Linked DNA regions of Homo sapiens: region 2 is linked to region 1. Evidence: promoter capture Hi-C in human tissues and cell types (Jung and others, 2019). All regions are on one chromosome and are shown on one strand. Each heading gives the region's core, a stretch centred on a gene start or on the middle of the fragment in contact. The rest is flanking DNA. Distances are from core to core; before and after follow the strand shown.

Region 1 (3,663 bases), core at 1,025-3,524:
CTCAAGTGATCCTCCCACCTCAGCCTCCTAAGGGCTAGGATTACAGGTGTGAGCCACTGCACCTGGCCCAGCCTCCTTTAAAGCCTTATAGACTAACCTCCTCAGAGAATGTAATATCTATTGCAATGATATCTCACCAGTATTGTTTCATCACCTTTTGTGTTTTGTTCAACTGGTTTGCTGCTATTTACAAGCTGTTGAGAGCAGGAGCTCTTCCAGCCTTATTTCCAACAATATAATCTATTTCTGTTGCTAGGAGAATTTATAGCTTTCCAAACAGACAATGAATGGTCTTTCACTCATTTGTCTACTGGCACACGCACAAAAAAATTCCTTAGACCTTCTTTCCTCTTCTCCAGGCAACTTCAAGCTTTTGCCTTGAGAGAAGGTTGAAAATTCAGTTCAATTACCGCTTTTCTAAAGCTTTCTGTAATTGTTCCCTAGGAGGGGTAAGGCAACTAACATATCGCTCCCATACCGTACTATTGGGCAGGCACTTTTAAAACTTAATCTTCACAAAGGTAGGCCTTTTATTGATTTTAACAGATGAAGAATTTGAGGCTTACGGAGGTTTGATGATTGCCCAAGGACATAGCTAGGGGGTTAGCAAACACAAGAACCCTTGCTTTCTGATACAGGATGTTACCTTCCACTTGGGTTCAGCCGCAGTAGTATGTACCTTTAATAGACACAGTATGATCATTTAGCACATGCTATTCAAGGTATCTGGCAGCTAGCAGCTGCTCATGTTACCTAACTGAATTTAGGTCCTCCCTCAAGTACGGCAAAGCCAAACACTGACATTGGGGTTTGTAGTGAAAGTGAGGCATTTATTGCATTGCACCAAGCAAGAAGAATCAGGCAGCTCATGCTTAAGACCCCAACTCCCTGATGGTTTACAGGTAAGGGGTTTTTTGTGTGCTTTTTTTTTTTTTTTTGAAACAGAGTTTCACTCTTGTCACCCATGCTGGAGTGCAATGGCGAGATTTCGGCTCACTGCAACCTCCACCTCCCGATTTCAAGTGATTCATCTGCCTCAGCCTCCCAAGTAGCCGGGATTACAGGCGCCCACCACCATGCCCAGCTAGTTTTTGTATTTTTAGTAGAGAAGGGGTTTCACCATGTTGGCAGGCTGGTCTCCAACTCCTGGCCTCGGCCTCCCAAAGTGCTGGGATTACAGGCATGAGCCACTGCGCCCAGCCCAGGTAAGGATTTTTAAAGGCAGGGAGGCAGAGGTTACAGGCAAAGTCATAAATCAATACATGGAGGCTATACGTGGGTTTGATCTAAAAAGCCAGGATATCTGAAGCAGGGACCCACAGGTCATAGATGGATTCAAAGATTTTCTGATTTGCAATTGGTTAAGGAGGCAAAGCTTTGTGAATTCTTCCAGGCTCCTCAGGAAGAAATTTAGAACAAAGATAGGTAGTTTGAGATCTCCATGCCAGTGGACACCATTTTCCATTTGGTGAGGTCCAGGTTTCTGAAAAACAACTCAGGGACATATGTCGTCTTTAGTTTCTATAGGGAAGCAAACATTTTGTGAATCTAACGTCCTTGGCTACTGTCTTAAGCTATTATTACCTTCTTGCTTATCAGGTTGCTCATTGACTTATTGAGGAAGTTAGGTGCCTGGAATGTCCCTTCAGGGAACTCAAGATTTTCCTTTATTTCCATGCTTGGGGAGGGGGGTGCCTAGATGGCCCCTAAGAGGGGTCCCTGTTCTGTCTCTCAATAAATATTTGTTGAATGAACAAATCATTACAACTCAGTACACATTGCAGAAAATATAGCCAAGAGCTCTGGAGCTGGAAGGGCCACAGATTATCCTACAGAACAATCATTTCACTTTTCTAATGTCGAAAGGGAGGATTCGAGATGTTAGGGGCTACAGGTGAGGCTGGAAATAATTAATTTACTCCATCAATATTGAATGCCTGCTATTGAGTGCTAGACTCTGGGGAGACAATGTTAAGGGAAGCCCAAGTTTTCCAACTCCCTGTCCAGAGCGCTGCAAAGTACTGCAGGAAGCTAAAGTGAGGACAAAGTTCCCAGAGATCAGGATATTTAAAGGGAGAACCAGCAGAGCTTGGTCTGGGGCAGGGTGGGGAAAAGAGGGACCCTGGCCTCCTCGGACCGTTTCTCCGCCAAGCCACGCGAGGGCGCTGTTCTGCTCCTAGGGCGCCGTGTCCCGGCGGCGCCGCCTGCTCGCCTTTTCCCGGCGGAAATGCCCGAGCGATGACGGAAACCCGGAGGGAGGGGAGAGAAAGAGCGAGAGAAGGGGAAAGACAAGTCGGGAGAGGCCGGTAGGCGTGAGGCGGGCCTGAAGCGGCAGCGGGCGGCCTTCGTCCGGCGAGAGCTAGGCCGAGGACCCGCGCCGCGCTCCCCGGCACCTCACCGCGTCCTTCACCGACTCCCGCGGCGCGCGGCCGGGCGGGGAAGGGCGGGCGGGGGTCTCCTCCAGGCTGCGCGCTCGGAGCCGCCTGCTGGGCTTGGGCGGGGCGCGGGGCCCGCGGCCGCCCTACCCGGCTCAGTCCTCCCCCTGTGGGACCTGGCGACGGCGGCGGAGGGAGAGGGGAGCGGCGCCCGGGCCGGGGCCGGGGGCGGGTGGGGAGGGGGGAGGGCGGCGGCCGGGCTGGGGCTCGGGATCCGCATCGGGATCGGGCCGCCATGGACGACAAGGCGTTCACCAAGGAGCTGGACCAGTGGGTCGAGCAGCTGAACGAGTGTAAGCAGCTGAACGAGAACCAAGTGCGGACGCTGTGCGAGAAGGTGAGGGCGCCGCGGGGGCGAGTGCGGGAGCGCGGGGCTGGGACGGGCCGCCGCTTTCCTGCCCGCCCCGGTCCCGTCCGCCCCTGGCCCGGCGCGGCCCACCGGGGGCCTGCGGGGCTGTGGGTCCGGCTCCGGCGTCCACCTAGGCGGCCGGCCCATCGGTTCAGGGCCCGGGGCGTTGGGCTGCCCTCGCCTGCCCCTTCCACCTCCGCCTCACGCCCCCGGCCGGCTGCCCAGATCCCGGGCGTGGGGGGCTCGGGTGCGGACGGGCGGGGAAACGTAGCCCCCTGAGCCAAGCAGGAGGTTGGTCGGGGTCGCCTGCGCTCCACTGGGGAGTTCCTGCCACTCTAGCATTTCCCGAGTGGACTAGCGAGAGCGACGTCCGAAAAGGACCATTTTCAGACCAGTTTCTGAAAATGCAACTAAAATTAACCAGAATGTCGTGCGTATTAATGAACTTGTTAATAAATGCAGAATTTTTGTCAGGTGAACGGGGCACCTCAGAAATCACTAACTCAAGCCGGGCGTGGTGGCTCACGCCTGTGGCCACAGCTACTCGGGAGGCTGAAGCGGGAGGATTGCTTGAGCCCAGGAGTTAGAGACCAGCCTGGGCAACATAGTGAGGCCCCGTCTCCACACACAAAAAATTTTTTTTAATTAGCAGGGTGTGACGGCGGGTGCCTGTAATCCCAGCTATTCGGGAGGCTGAGGCGGGAGGATCGCTTGAGCCCAGGAGGTGGAGGCTGGTTGCAGTGAGTCGAGATCGCGCCACTGCACTCCAGCCTGGGCGACAGCAAAAAAAAAAAAAAAAAAATCGCTGATTCTTGAATGTGCCAAGCGTTTGTTTGCGGAGAGGTAGGCGTGATGGCCAACTGTGATTTTTAAAATAGA
Region 2 (3,993 bases), core at 1,365-3,864, 130 kb after region 1:
TGCCATCATGGCTCACTGCATCCTTGCAGCATCAAACTCCTGGGCTCAAGCCATCCTTCTACCTTAGTCTCCCAAGTAGTAGGAACTACAGGCGTGGTCCACCACACCTGGCTAATTTTTAAAAAAAATTTTTGTAGACACAAGGTCTCGCTGTATTACCCAGGCTAATTTTGAACTGGGCTCAAGCGATCCTTCCACCTCAGCTTCCCAAAGTGCTGGGATTACAGGCATGAGCCATTGCACCCAGCCTATATTTGCTAAATTTTTGAAGAATGAGGCAAAAAAAAAAGGTTCAGTCTCATTTGACATTAAGATATATTTATATAATGCAAATTGAGTGATTACTATGTGCTAGGTCTTGTCAACATGTTACTAATCTAATTTAATCTTGCCAACAACCGGCAAGGTATAAGGAAGCCAGGAGCACAGAGATACTAGATAATTTACTGGGCTGTAAACTCTATGGTGTAGGGAGAATGTCTGTCTTACCATGGTATTCTCAGTGATGAAGTCAAAGTCTCATTTGTAATAGAAGCTTAAATATTTGTTGATAAACAGGTGGTTATACAAGGTCTCATAACCGGTAAGTTGCAGAGCTAGGATTTGAATTTTGGTCTGTCTGTACCAAAGGTTGTACTCTTTTTTTTTTTTTTTTTTTTTTTTTTTTGAGGCAGAGTCTCTTTCTGTTGCCCAGGCTGGAGTCAGTGGTGCCATCTCAGCTTACTGCAATCTCCGCCCCCTGGGTTCAAGTGATTCTCCTGCCTCAGCTTCCCAAGTAGCTGGGACTTGCCAAGTAGGTGGGCATGCACCACCATGCCTGGCGAATTTTTAGTATTTTTAGTAGAGACAGGGTTTCACCATGTTGGCCAGGCTGGTCTCAAACTCCTGACCTCAGGTGATCCGCCCGCCTTGGCCTCCCGAAGTGCTAGGATTTACAGGCCTGAACCACTGCGCCTGGCCAGTTGTACTCTTAAGCTCTGTGGCTACTTACTTCCTACTTCTGCCATATCTCTACTTCTCATATATACTTAGGATTTGCAAAGCCACATGATAAGCATAACATGTCTTCTTAAAGCAAAAATTTGACTACATATAGGAAAATATTTTTGGTTAAGGGAAACATCAATATGTGTTTTTGTTTTGTTTTGCTTTTACTTTTCTTCTGGGAGTCTGAAAAAAACATCAGTATGTTTTAGAGTAGAGTGCAAAAGTTGCTTGGATTTTTAAAGACAAAATGGTAAGCTTCATAGAAATGTGCTTTTGGCCAGGCATGGTGGCTCACACCTGTAACCCCAGTGCTTTGGGAGACCTAGGCGTGAGGATCACTTGAGGCCAGAAGTTTGAGGTCAGCCTGGGAAACAGCAAGACCTATTCTATAAAAAAATGTTAAAAAGGCTAGGCGTGGTGGTTCACGCCTGTAATCCCAACACTCTGGGAGGCCGAGGCAGGTGGATCACGAGGTCAGGAGATCAAGACCATCCTGGCTAACATGGTGAAACCCCGTCTCTACTAAAAATACAAAAAAATTAGCTGGGTGTGGCGGCGGGCACCTGTAGTCCCAGCTACTCGGGAGGCTGAGGCAGGAGAATGGCGTGAACCTGGGAGGCAGAGCTTGCAGAGAGCCTAGATCGCGCCAGCCTGGGCGACAGAGCGAGACTCCATCTCAATAAATAAATAAATAAATAAATAAATAAATAAATAAATAAATAAATAAATAAATAAATGTATGTTAAAAAATTATCCAGGTGTGATGGCACATGCCTCTAGTTCTAGCTACTCGGGAGGCTAAGCAGGAGGATTGCTTAAGCCCAGGAGGTCAAGATTGCAGTGAGCCATGATCACACCACTGCACTCCAGCCTGGGTAACAGAGCGAGACCCTGTCTCTAAAAAAAAACTAAATAAACATAGATATGCTTTTGGTGACTGCTTGAGTCAGTGTTCCTCAGGAGCAGTGCTTCCATGGGACAAGTTGAAAAGCTGGACTCCAGAGGGATTCCAAGTGGCACACCTGATAGTTGAGTGATCCTCTTCATGTCTGCCTGGCCAGTTGAATTGTACATTGCAATGTCAAATCCTGTTAAAACATCTCAAAAGTGGATAAAATACTACCTTTTATGTTAAGCAAGATATGAAACTTGCCAACTTTTTTTTTTCTAATTTCTAACAGAGGCAGGGTCTCACTGTGTTGCCCAAGCTGATCTCAAACTCCTGGGCTTAAGGGATCCTCCCTCTTCGGCTTCTCAAAGTTCTGGGGTTACAGGTGTGGGCCCACTGTACCCAGCTTGAAACTTGCCAGCTGTAAATGCCTTTCGTGTTGCAGCTGAGTCTCATGGTTTCTTGGAGATTCTGGCTGCAGTTCCCATGTGAAATGAGGAAGGGAGATCCAGAGGTTTGATCTACCTTTTTTAGTAGGTGGGCCAAGTGGTTACATGATATCTCTTTGTAATTTTAGGGGATTCAAACCGATGACAAGGGTCATATCATCGTAGACGAATTCCAGAATACCAACGTCAAAGGCATCTATGCAGTTGGGGATGTATGTGGAAAAGCTCTTCTTACTCCAGGTAAGGTCTCTTCCCTTCTTGGTGAGGGAGGGTCTGCGTGTTACATGATCCATCTGGCTCTTCACTGTCAAATCTGCAGTCTGCTTAAGCAAAGTTAAAAGGATGAGTGTCTTTATATTGTCAAAATGGTACAATGTGTTGAAATAGATATTGGTTGGATACCTGACATTATCTGAATAAAAGACTTAAAATGCTTAGCACAGACTGAAGTTTTCATGTAGACAATATGATCACCCGTTGCGGAACTCTCTTAGGAGCAGACTTGTGCTTGGTGGCAGTGGAAGGAAGTGGCATTTGGAAGAAGTAATTTAGATTGGCATTTTTTTTTTTTTTGGAGACACTCTGTTACCCAGGCTGGAGTGCAGTGGCATGATCACGGGCTCACTGCAGTTTCAACCTTCCTGGGCTCAGGTGATCCTCCCACCTCAGACTCCCAAGTAGCTAGGATCACAGGTGCATTTTTTGTAGAGACAGGGTTTTACCATGTTGTCTTGAACCCCTGTGCTTAAGCAGACTGCCTGCCTCAGCCTCCCAGAATGTTAGGATTACAGGCATGAGCCACCACACATGGCCTAGATTGTCATTCTTGTATGACTGGTCTTGATACAACCAAGACTGATTTCCTTCTCTCCGGCATCCCACACCTCAGCCCGCTTCCTAAGCACCATTGCAAGCTCTGTCCCATCTCTATCCATTAATGATCACTTGATCTACTTTCAGTCTGTACCTAGAACCTCATCAGCGATTCCAGCGTGTCCCAGGGCCTTATATCAGGATGAAAACCTACACCAGTCACACACCCAAACCCTTTTAGCTCCTTTAGAAAGTTCTTGCTCTTGGCTAGGTGTGGTGGCTCCCATCACTTTCAGAGGCTGAAGTTGGGGGATCGCTTGAGTCTAGTAGTTTGAGACCAGGCTGGGCAACATAGTGAGATGTTGTCTGTATTAAAAAAATAAAGATTCAGCTGGGCACGGTGGCTCACGCCTGTAATCTCAGCACTTTGTGAGGCCGAGGTGGGCAGATCACGAGGTCCAGAGATCGAGACCTTCCTGACCAACATGGTGAAACCCCATCTCTGCTAAAAATACAAAAATTAGCTGGGCGTGGTGGCACACGCCTGTAGTCCCAGCTACTTGGGAGGCTGAGGCAGGAGAATTGCTTCAACCCGGGAGGCAGAGGTTGCAGCGAGCTGAGATGGCGCCACTGCTCTCCAGCCTGGCAACAAGAGCGAGACTCTGTCTAAAAAAAAAAAATAATAATATAATAATAATGATAATAATAATAAAGATTCTAGGCGCAGTGGCTCATGCCTGTAATTCCAGCACTTTAGGGTTATAAAATAGAACTAAAGATGCTGAAAACTAATATAGCTTGTTCCATAAATATTGTATTAAAAAGCTAATATCTTCATTAAGTAGATTAACTGCC

What was found. Contacts are between HindIII fragments. The study calls those that stand out against the background at their distance.
Region 2: a fragment that was not itself captured here is called in contact with the fragment with the promoter of PPP2CB in region 1 in 1 of the 25 tissues and cell types used here (mesendoderm cells).

The regions. Positions count from the first base shown.
Region 1 is chr8:30,811,429-30,815,091 of GRCh38, reverse strand. PPP2CB (protein phosphatase 2 catalytic subunit beta) reads left to right here and starts at 2,274. Exons shown (of 7, transcript NM_001009552.2): 1 at 2,274-2,772. The coding sequence starts at 2,671. RefSeq lists silencers at 2,401-2,620, 2,651-2,710, 2,791-2,900, 2,961-3,020. The HindIII fragment of the contact is 3,135 bases long and covers 65-3,199 here.
Region 2 is chr8:30,682,660-30,686,652 of GRCh38, reverse strand. GSR (glutathione-disulfide reductase) reads left to right here. Exons shown (of 13, transcript NM_000637.5): 10 at 2,454-2,565. Among named protein-coding and RNA genes, the nearest start is that of GTF2E2, 26 kb to the right of the region's middle. The HindIII fragment of the contact is 3,449 bases long and covers 890-3,993 here.